Linked DNA regions of Homo sapiens: region 2 is linked to region 1. The links are contacts of gene promoters, found by promoter capture Hi-C in human tissues and cell types (Jung and others, 2019). All regions are on one chromosome and are shown on one strand. The core of a region is centred on a gene start or on the middle of the fragment in contact, and the rest is flanking DNA. Distances in the headings are between cores, read along the strand shown.

Evidence for each region. Contacts are between HindIII fragments. The study calls those that stand out against the background at their distance.
Region 2: a fragment that was not itself captured here is called in contact with the fragment with the promoter of PPP1R2 in region 1 in 2 of the 25 tissues and cell types used here (heart right ventricle and thymus).

The regions. Positions count from the first base shown.
Region 1 is chr3:195,540,723-195,546,226 of GRCh38, forward strand. It overlaps PPP1R2 (protein phosphatase 1 regulatory inhibitor subunit 2), which reads right to left and starts at 2,603. Exons shown (of 6, transcript NM_006241.8): 1 at 2,182-2,603. The coding sequence starts at 2,303. RefSeq lists a silencer at 2,575-2,814 and an enhancer at 5,321-5,504. The HindIII fragment of the contact is 14,684 bases long and covers 1-5,504 here.
Region 2 is chr3:194,979,255-194,985,331 of GRCh38, forward strand. It overlaps LOC105374294 (a long non-coding RNA gene), which reads right to left. Exons shown (of 4, transcript XR_924873.2): 4 at 2,329-3,531. Among named protein-coding and RNA genes, the nearest start is that of XXYLT1-AS1, 110 kb to the right of the region's middle. The HindIII fragment of the contact is 5,353 bases long and covers 832-6,077 here.

The sequences.
Region 1 (5,504 bases), core at 1,353-3,852:
CCATGTGATGCCCTGCACCACCTTGGAACTCCACAGAGTCCCCACCAGCAAAAACGCTCTCACCAGATGCACCCTTAAGACCCTGGACTTCCAAGCCTCCAGAACCGTAAGAAATAAATTCAGTTTCTTATAAATTATCATTTCAGACATTCTGTTATGACCAACAGAAAACAGACTAAGACTATATTGTATTACTAGTAGAATTAGTTTATTTGCTTTACAGTCACATAACAAGGATCATTAAAAAACCCATCCTTTTTACCACTTGGAACCAAACATCATGAACTTCAATGAATTAGGGTTTGATAGTTCTCTTTAAAGACAGGACTGTAACTCTAACTCGACAGGTCAGTCCCTTTTAAGTGAATCTACCCTGCCACAGATACTACAGAAGAGGCAGCCCTATGCAGTTGAGTCAGTCTAGTATAGTGGCTTTTGAGGCAGAAAGACCTGAATGTAAATCCCAACCAATTACAGAAAGAAAGAGGCCAATCCATAGATTGGGCCCACGGGAAATTACAGCAGATCCAAGTTAAGAATAAACAGAAACTAAAGAAGCAGAGATAAAGAGTAACTCACTTGGTAAATGGACCAAAAGAAACTCACACTGGAGAACAGCTAAATAACATAAATGCCAGTAAGGACCACATTCCTGCTGCTGAAAACCCTGAAGCTACATTTGAGCCTTCTGTAGTTACGTTACTTATCTTTTAATTCCTTTTCTTTTCTTTCCTTTTTTTTTTTTTTTTTTTTTTTAAGAGATGAGGTCTCATTATGTTGCCCAGGCTGGTCTCAAACTCCTGGGATCAAGCAATCCTCCCACCTTGGCCTCTCCAAGTGCTGAGATTACAGGCGTGAGCCACCACGCCTGGATGTTATTTATCTTTTAACTAACTTGGTTCTCCTGCTTCAGTTATGTTCTGGTGAAATTCTGTCTTCTTAATTCCATGACCTACACATCACACTCCCCCAGCACTCCATTTAACGTGGCTTAGCCCAAAGAAGTTGGAAAATTGTGTGTGAGAGAATGTAAGATTCAAGCATCCATGAGCGTGGGAGTTGCTAGACAAAAACTAAGGTCCTTTCCAGCCCCAAAAGGCCACGATTCTAACCTATGAACCTACTCAATATTTCCTTCAAGGTAACACAAATCCCTAAAATTTACCACCACCAAGCAGTAGTTCCTTTTATGGTCCTAAATAAGATCCTTTATCCAGGAATGCCCTAGGTTCCTATATTCTGAGATTTCACAAACATCCTCATTTTAGCTTCTGACTACCAATTTCAATGGTAACTTTTCTTAAGCCTTATTTTCAGAAAGTAGAGTCCTTCTATTTTTAGTATCTTGCAACGCCCAAGCCCCCGTGCACTTCTAACCCACTACAGATACTGTACTGCAACATTTTCTCCGTGCATAAACGCCTACCTTTCTTTTTTTAAAGGCTAGTATATTGTTCCATTATACAAACGTACCGTAATTAATATTTCACCAGCTCTTACTAATGGACTTCCGGTCGTTTCCAATTATATTATAAATATTACATACAATGCTCAGGTCAACAACTTTTTACATGTGTATCTTTAGCGTATGCAAGAGCAACTAAATTACCACTGGGTCATTTCAAGTTGCTCCTCTTTGAACTGTTTTGAGCTTAGATCTATCTCTGAACAGGAACAAAAACTAGAAAGCACCCAAAACTCTGGTTGCAGATGCAGAAATACAGTGTGGCACAATGCTAATGGGGGAAATGGTCTCTTCTTTGACGGATCGCCTATTAGCTTGAGACTAGATCTTAAAGGGTTCCCAAAGCAAGAAAATACACTGTAATTATCGAAGAATTTTAGATACCTCAGAGATGAGGTTAAGAAATAGTAAAAGCTTAACAGTCGAAGATCTGAAGCTTCAATTTCATTCTTTGATGTTCCCGATTACAGAAAGTTCAAAGATGATGTTTAAAAATATTATATATGCCCAAATGCTTAAAAAAAAAAAAGGAAGCATGATAAACGTCATCGCCCAGCCTTCTTAAAGATCGCTCCCACCCGCGGCTAGCCGGGCAGGAGAAGAGACTCGAGCGGCACCCGAGCCGCATCCACGCCGCCCGCCCGCCCCTGGGGTCTGGGTAGGTAACGGGCCCGGCGGGAAGGAGGGGCTCCCAGGCCGTCCCTCCCAGCGCTCACCTCAGCTCCTCGTCGACATTCCCGCGGGGCTGTTCGGCCGACGCCACCATAGAGGAAGTCGTAGAGGTCTTGTTCTTCAAGATCCCCTTGATGGGCCGGTGCGAGGCCGTCGAGGCCGCCATTGCCGGGCGCTCCGGCTGTCGGCTCAGGGTCGCTGCTTGGCGTGGGGTCCGCGAAGAGAAGGGTCGGCACAGCAGAGACTCGCAGGCAGCCGCAGATCCCGCTCAGGGCTAAAGCGGCCGCAACTGCTGCCTCGGAAACGGCTACCGCAGCGGTTGTCACGACACAACGACCCCGACGCCAGAGCCAACGCCGAACGGGTGGCGGCTACTCGCGCACCCTTAGCCACTGGCACTTGACCCGCGGCTCGCGGAGAGACGCCGGCCTAGAGCTCCAGCGCAGGAGCGACGCGACGCCGAAGCCAAGCGGACCCGCCCTCTCGCGATATCTAGGGAGGAGGCGGGGAGAGGGCGGGGCGAGAACAAAGCCGACCTCCTCGCCCCGCCCCCTCCGTCCCGCCCGGGCTGCTCGCCCCGCCCCCGCGCGGCGCTGGGAGGCGGGAGCTGTCTCTGAGAACCTGCGGGAGAGCGCCCGGGCTTGCTGCTTCCCGGACCCGCGCGTCTCTCGAGCACCCTCGTCCCACCACCTTGTGAGGCCGTAGTGTTATTTTTATTTTTTAGATCAGCAGACTGAGACTCGAGGTGACGTCACTCCGCAGAGAGGTTAGCTGACTTGAAGAAAACGGGTATCTCCTCTTTCCATTTCGCCCGTGTAAACAGCCGAACTGCCTATTATAAAAGCATGGACTGCCAGCATTGGAGTGGTCCTTAGAGGCCTATTATGAAATCATAGAATGTCTGCATTGGAATCGCCTCACCTCCTTTTACCGCTGGAGAAGCCGACGGACAGACGGGCAGCGACCCCCGCCGTCGCACAACCCGTCTAGGCAGAGAGCGCAGGAGACGGGAGGGCGGCAGGGACACATCTCCCAGCCAAGGACCTCCTGGGCCCGCAGAGGCCGCGACAGGTTCCCCCCACAGAGGGAACCAACTCTGCCGCAGGTTGATGTGGACTTCAAGCCTGCAGAACGGAGAGCCCATTTCCATTGCTTAAAGCCACCTCGTGTGTGGTATTTGTTATGGTCCCTGTACACTCCCTTCCCTCCCTCTCCCAAGTCCAGTCCGCAGCTCGCTCATCACCAGGCTCTTTTCCATGACTCTTTCTTGATCAGGCCTTTTTATCGTCCTCACCACAGGTTAGAGCACAGCAGACTGAGCCACCCAGAACTGGCCCCTCCGGTGGACCAGCCCCTGCGGATTCACAGACCACTGGTCCTGGAAGGGACCTTGTCAAGCAGGCCCATAAGGTGGCTATTCAGCCTGTTTCTCCAACAACCCCAGGGGCTAGAAGCCCGCCACACCCCCGTGTAACTCATTTTGTTTTTGGACAGCTCTGACTCTGGGAGTTCTTAGATTGAGCTGACACCTCGCTCCCAGCAATGTCTGTCCACTGCTGTGGGGGGTGAGAGGAAGCGTTTTCCCCTATCTAGCCCCTATAGCAGCAGTTTCACTCCCATGGCTCATCTCTGGACCACAGTCTCATCTTCTTTAACACAGGCTCTGTGCCTTTTGAGGATGACCCTGTTCTGTGTCCTTAGGACTCTGCCCCTCAGGGATGACTGTAGGGTTCTGAAAACGATTGTTTTTATCGTCTGGCCCCGAGCCCCTAGCTCCTAGATGAGTTCCTGGCACAGAACAGGGCCTCAGTATGGGAATGGATGTGGATGGAGATAATGGAGGGGAAGTGAGCTGGAAGGGGAGAAGGGAAACAGGGTTGCTGGTCACAGAGTGGAATGTGTTCCCCAGGGATTTGCCTCAGCCAGGGGCCTGCACAGTCACTGTTGGCACTGTCCCCACCTTTGTTCCCAGTCAAATATCCACTGGTGCCGTCTCTCCCTCCCAGGCCAGGACTGCTCAGTGGATCTAACATTACACCCTGACAGCCCTGTCCAGCCCATGGAGCAGAGAGAGAGGGTTCTCAGCGAGGGGAAGCAGGATGGCCACCTCCCTTCCCTTCCTGAGTTCTTTCCACCCCAGTGTTCAACACCTGTGTTGCGTCTCCTGCCCTGTCAGCAGGAGTCTAGGTCAGTGATGGCAATCCTGTTTTCAAGGGAATACACAAACTTCCCTGTATGTTCCAAATTATTGGGCAGATTTGCTTTGTTCCTGCTTGGGCTGGGAAGCATCACTGAGTTCAGCATCCCTGAACTCAACTGTGACTGGGCCCTTGATTAAGCAACAGCTTGCTTTCAGACCCTCTAATGAAAGGGACTACGATCGTATGACATAAAGTGTTTTATTAGTTAATTAACTAACAAACATTGGAACAGGAGGTGATGAAGAGTTCTCTGAAGAACCTTGGAAACATATTTCCCTCATCAAGAGTTAAACTTTTGTCTCCTGTACTGGTTCTTCCACTCCCAAACCCACAACAAATGAATGCAGATGAAGATGACTTTGGTAGCACTTAAAAAAAAATAGTTTGTAAAATTGTGAGGGCCAGTACTGCTTTTTTTTTTTTTTTTTTTGAGACAAAGTCTTGCTCTGTCGCCCAGGCTGGAATGCAATGGCACAATCTCCACTCACTGCAACCTCTGCCTCCTGGGTTCAAGTGATTCTCCTGCCTCAGCCTCCCGAGTAGCTGGGACTACAGGTGCCTGCCACCACACCCAGCTAATTTTTGTATTTTTAGTAGAGATGGGGTTTCATCATGTTGGCCAGGCTTGTCTCAAACTTCTGACCTCAGGTGATCTGCCCGCCTCAGCCTCCCAAAGTGCTGGGATTATAGGCATGAGCCACCACACATGGCCTGCTTTTCCTTATCTTTCAGAATAGTTGAACTACTTTATTCCTCAGTGTGGCCCAAATAAGATTTTCAAATGCCTCTAAACAGAGCTCTCCTTCTGTGCCTCTGCTGAGGTTTGCTCCTGTAGGAAGTTATCTGGACCAAACAGCCCGAGCACTGAATTTAGCTGTATTGCTGTTACATTTCCTGTGTGTTGAGGGTTTGGCTGCCAGGAGGTGAATTGTAGATAGAATCTTTCATTCTGGTTTCAGTTTCTGGAAGTAGCTATTGAGCTCAAGGCAAATCATATATTTAAAGATATATACATGATTTAAGGATAATCTGGCATTTATCTCTGCTCTCTTTTTGAAGACTTCATTATCATGGTTGCCTGACCCAACACAACATATTTGGAGGAGGAGAGGGGACACTTTTATTGTACCCCATCACGTGGCTGAGTCATTTGGCTCTCCATTCAC
Region 2 (6,077 bases), core at 2,258-4,757, 560 kb before region 1:
TAATTTGCTAGGGCTGCCATAACCAAGTACCACAGAGTGGGTGGCTTCAACCGCAGACAGTTATTTTCTCCCAGTTCTGGAGGCTGGATGCCCAGGGTCAAGGTGTCAGCAGCTCTGGTTTCTGAGGACTCTCTCTCTGGCTCGCAGACGCCGGTCTTATTGCTCTGTCCTCACACGGCCTTTCCTCTCTTTGCAGACATGTGTCTGTGTCCAAATTTCTTCTTCTTTTAAGGACATCCATCATATTGGATTAAGGCCCATTCTAAACACCTCACTGTAACTTAATTACCTCTTTATTTTAAAGACCCTATCTCCCAATACAGTTACATTCTGAGCTATTGGGGCTTCAACATATGAATTTTGAAGAAACACAATTCAACCCATAACAGTAAGTGTGTACAAAGAAATTAGTAAGATCTAAATAAGTATTGAATCATCATTATCACCATCATCTCATCATCATCATCATCATCAATTTGGGAGATTTAAAAACATGAGGAATTAAAATAATAGAAATAGTAAAAAATGTGAGCAGTGAAAGGTTGTAAGTAAGAAATTTTGAGTGTATAAAATTACTGTTTTTATTCAGGAGAAGGATAAAGTGTTGATTAACTTCAGGCTTTGTTCAAAAAATACACAGTGAAGTATGCATATTATAAGCTTTAGGAAAATAGTGAAAGATCAGAAACACATGCATAATTTTCAAATCAGTAGAGGGCAAAAGAGGGAAGAAAATCTAATCAGTCTCACAGAAAGCCACAGAAAAGGAGTGGGAAAGGCAAAGAAACAATACATGAAGAATGCAAAATAAGATAGACAAAAATCCAAATCATCACAGTAATCACAGAAATCGTAAATGGATTAATTTTTCCTATTAAAAGATAGACACTCGGAGTACACTTCCAATGTCCAGATTATGCAGTTTGTAAGAAATGCACTAAACATAATGACAGAGCTTGAAAATAGACATAAAAAGATATACCAGGGGTATCCGTTATAAAGCTTTGGTTACAGGGTACAGAAGAATCAACCAAATTGGTTAATAATAAAGTAGATTTATTAGTTTAGATAAACAGACGTTGCAGAGGCAGGATCAGCTTCAGAGTAGCTTGATTCAGCAACAATCTCATTAAGGACCGAGCATCTTCCTATCTCTGCTCTCCCTTCCATGGTATCAGCTTTACTTTTAGGCTGGCTTCCCTTTGGGAGAAAATTGACTGTAGGATTTCTAGGTTTCATCTCACCTATCCCATCAAGAAAATTCGAGGCAATTCTAAAGAACAATAAGAGATTAGGGAATATGGCTTAACCAACAGGATATAAACAATTCTTATAAAGCTATACTAATAAAACTGGGTGATATTTATAGAGCAATAAAAAATAGACCAAATTAATAGATCAGAGAGCTTAGAGACTACATATATATAGATATACTTGGTGTTGGGACAATGGCTTTCCATGTAAAAGAATAAAATCAGGTTCCTATCTCATAGCATGCACAAAAATAAATTCCAGTTTGGCTAAAGCCTATATATTAAAAATATAACTTTTAAGCTACTAAAAAAAAATCTTTATGACATCAGGTAATAAAAAGCTTTCAAGATATAAGAGAACAAACCGTTTAAAAATTCATAGATTTGTCTATATCAAAATCAAAATGCTTTATGACAAAAAATGATAGATTAGAAGTTGTTTACAATATGAAATACCAAAAAGGTAGTCTTCAGAATATATAAAGACCTTCTACAACTCAATAAGAAAAAGGCGCTCAACCCAATAGAAAGAGGGTAAGAGATTTAAAGGGGTAATTCACAGAAGAGGAAATCCAAGTGGTCATGAATACATGAAAAGACGCTCAACTCATGGAAGCACTCACAGAAAACAAGTTGAAATCTTCTCATATCATGTCAATCTCCATATTTTAGAAAAAAATTAAAAGTCTGAAAATACTAATCTTTGTGAAAATATGAGGAAAATGGGAACTTTCAGAAACACTGCTAGTGGGGGATAAATTAGCACAGCCATTTGGGGAACAGCTTTGCAGTTATTATTAACATTGAAAAATGCACACATTTTATGACCGAAAAAATTCCCAAGGCATCAACCCTAGAGAAACTCTTCTATGAGGGTAAGAAAACACCTCAGCCTTGTAATAATGAAAACATTTTTAAACAACCTAAATTTTCATCTAAAGTAAAAGTGGTACATATTAATTAGCAGCAGTGAAAAGCAATGAACTATATCTGCGTATCTTGACATGAACAGATCTTCTAAGCCCCGTAATGAGTGAAAAAATCAAAGTGACATATATATAGAGAGAGAGAAAGATTATTTATTACATAAATTTATTACATAAATTTTTTAAATGTGGAAGATAATACTTTACATGATTAGGGACACAAATATATATTATAAGCATTTTTTAAGTGGACAAGAAGGCACATACCAAATTTATGACAATAACTTCCTCTGGAAAGGAAAGGAGGGAAATAGGAATGGGTAGTGATAAAAGTGAGATTCAATTTCATCAGTGAATTTCCTTTTTTAAAGCTCTCTGTGGGATTAATATGATGCTGTGTTTTAGACCATTTTCTGTTGCTTTAATAGAATGACTGATACTGGGTAATTTATAAAGACCAAAAGGTTATTTGGCTCATGGTCTTGGAGGCTGGGAAGTCCAAGGGCATGGCATCAGCACCTGGTGAGGGTTTTCTTGCTCATCATAACATTGGGGAAGGCATTATACAGAGAGAGAGCAAGCAAGCACATATGAAAAAGACTGCAAAAGTGAGCTGAGCTCATTTTATAACAACCCACTCTCGTGAGAAGTAACTTCCTCCCTAGAGAACTAATTCACTCCCATGATAATGGCAGTAATCCATGCAGGAGGGCTCCACTCTTGTGATCCAAGGATCTCTTAAAGGCCCCACGTCTTAATACTGTTACATTGGCAATGAAGTTTGTAACACATGAACTTTTAGGGGGCACATTCAAACCAGAGCAGGCTGGGACTTCAAATCTCACCCTACTGAGTTTCTTCCCCTTCTCTGACCTGCATCTCCCATTGTCTTGCCAGTTTCTCCTGGGAGCGCTTCCCTGATAAACTGTGTGCACAGTGAACCTCATCCCACGGTCTGCTACTAGAGAGCCTGTCCTAAGACGATGAGGCACTCAAGCGTCTCCCCCTCACTCCAATTCTTTGCTCCATCTTTGGTAGGCTGAAAAATGACTCCTGCCCCCACAAAAAATCAGTATTCTAATCCATGTGACCTGTGAATTTTACATTGTATGGCAAAACAAAGGGGTCTTTGCAGATGAGAGTAAATTAAGGATCTTGGGACGGAGGGTTATCTGGATACGCCCTAAAGGCACACACATTTATCCTTATCAGAGTGAGGCAGAGGGAGATTTGACCACACACACAGATGAGAAGGCCATGTGACGATGGATCAGGGAGAAATTCAAAGATGCTGGCCTTGAAGATTGGAGTGATGAGGCCACAAACCAAGGAATGCCAGCAGCCACCAGAAACTGGAAGAAACAAGAAACAAATTATCCCCTAAAGCTTTCAGAGGAGCATGGCTGTCTATGATTTTGAACTTCTGAGCTCCAGAACTGGGAGGGAATAAGTTTATGGTAATTCGTTAAAACAGCCATGGGAAACCAACATGCTCTCCTACTAATAAAAGCTTATAATCCTTACACCATGCTTACCATATCCCAGGCCCTGTGCTGAACTTTCACCCTGGTTGTCTCACGTAAGACTCACAATATCTCTTTGGGTTAGTTAATTCACAGGAGCAAAAACTGAGGTTTGAAGAAGTTAAATGACTTGCCCAGGGTGACACAGAGTCAGGATTCAGACACAGGCAGGCCAACTCCAGAGCTGTCCTTCTCTACAAGTACTGTGGTCCCACCTTTCAAGTTGGGAGGCCCAGCAGGGATGGTTATCAAGCAGGGAAGAAGGGGAGGTATGTCCAGTCTCTGCTGTATGTCAGGATCCCAGAAAAAAAGCATTAGAAGCCTGGGCTCTGGTATCTCTCCACCTGCCAGACCCCACCCACCAGTTCCAAGGAAAGGCAGCCCCAGCAAACGTCTCCACAGGGACTGAGCAAGGCAGATGGCTGGGCTGCTGAGCAGACGGAGGGAGCCCAGGGCTTTCTGTGCTCAAGGCCTGCTCAGAGAAGGTTGGTCTGGACACCCCAACCAGCCAGTTCACCAAGCACTGGCATCTTCCCACAAGAGAAGAAAGGAGGGAAAGATGGAAAAGAAAGAGGGAGGAAAACAAAACAGCCCAAACAGCCCAAATCACTCCTCCCCCAACAGCTGCGTTCAACAAAGGGACATTAAATTAAATTCTTGAGGAAACAGGGCTCAGAGGGTAGGACCATGCCAAGTGAGCCCAGGAACACTTACCACTCTTCGGAACCCAATTAGCCTCCCTTTGGGACACTGGGCTCTTCATTAATCCCTTCTCTGGCTGAAAATGAGGTCCCTGTGCTTTGATCCCCTCTGCCTGCCTGCCAGGGCTCCTGGCTGGGAAATGTCACATCTGCCACTGCTCACACCATTGTCTGAGCTTACAGACCCATGGCTCTCCAGTAGCATAGGCCACGCTGCCAGAAGCCCCTCCAAACACTCACCCAGACTTGAGTGTGGTCCCCAGATACACCCAACATACTCTCTGGGCACCATCAGAGAAAACTCAGACCCAGTACCTGCCATGAAAGAACTTGAGATGGAAGAGGGAGAAAAACTTATACAAAAACCTTTGATATGGCCCATAAAATCTCATCAGAGCCTCTACTTTACTGAGCACTGGCCTAATCCCATTCCCACATGGTCCATAAACACTTTTGTGTCCCTTACCCCACTGGGCCTGTCGCCCTGCTGTCCTGCCCTGATGCAGCTGGAGGCTGGGGGGCTCCAGCCTTCTCCTGAGGATTCCTGTCTAAATGCTCAGCTGCTCTGGAATTCACAGGAGCCCAGGGCATGGGGCCCACCTGGTCTCCTGCTTCCTTCAGGTTGTTGCAGAGCCCCTGTCCTCCCTCGCCTTCTCTACCCCTTTGCTCCCCCTGCCTCGCCTGCAGCTGTCCATGAGCTCTGCTCAGCAAGTCCCAGCTGACCTGGATCTTTCCTTTTTTTCCAGCTAAACAGATATCTGCCTTGCTAATACTGACTGCCTTTCAAAGCATAATTATGATGTGTTGTGTTAAAATCACACTCCAGTAAGGAGCAGGAGACAGGGGAGAGGAATGGATGGGATGAAGAGGGCCAAGAGTCTCTTCCTGTCTCCCGGTGCAGGGATTAAGAGACTGAAGAGGGCATTCTGGGGAAACTGAGGCTCAGAATGGCCCAATAACCTGCCCAAAGCCAGACAGTCTGTAACTGGTGGAGCTAAGATCCTGCTGTTGACTTCATTTGCAGGTGGAGGAGGATGAGAAGGAAGTTTAGGGTGCATCTGCCAGGTCTGGGCAGAGCCTGCCCCAGTTGTGTTCAAGGTCCAGTGTTCAACACCCCCACCCTGGCCCCATGCGGGACTCCAGGGAAAGCCTGGAACCACGCCCCGGGAAAACACACAGGAACTCTGAGGGCTGGGCAGGGAGGGCTGCGGAGCTGCCCAGGACACCTTGCCTGACAAGGGCTCCTGCCATGCAGCTCATTTCAGCATAACACCTGCTTACGACGGCCTGCTCTGCCTGGGGAAGGATATCAGGCCCCGTGGAGGATGCACAGCGAAGCCAGCACGTCCCTGACCTCAAGAAGTTGCCAGCCTCCCGAGGGAGATGGCTGTCGCACGGACTCCCGCACCCACCAGAAGGCCTGCAGGGAGACCTCTGGGGCCGCTTTTCAGTCACGACCTCTATGCTCCACGCCCGTCCTCTGGGCGCCAACTGGTGATGCTGGAGCTGGGACTCTGCCCGCGGCTCCGCTCTGCCAGCCGGGTCTGTGTAGGCTCTGCAGCCCGGGCGCTAGAGCGGCACCTCCAGGCTGGTGCGGGAGGCAGGACTTGCTCTTCCTATTTGCTCCCTGTCCGCTTCCTGCGGGCTTCCTGTTCCTGGGAGCTCGTTGTCTCC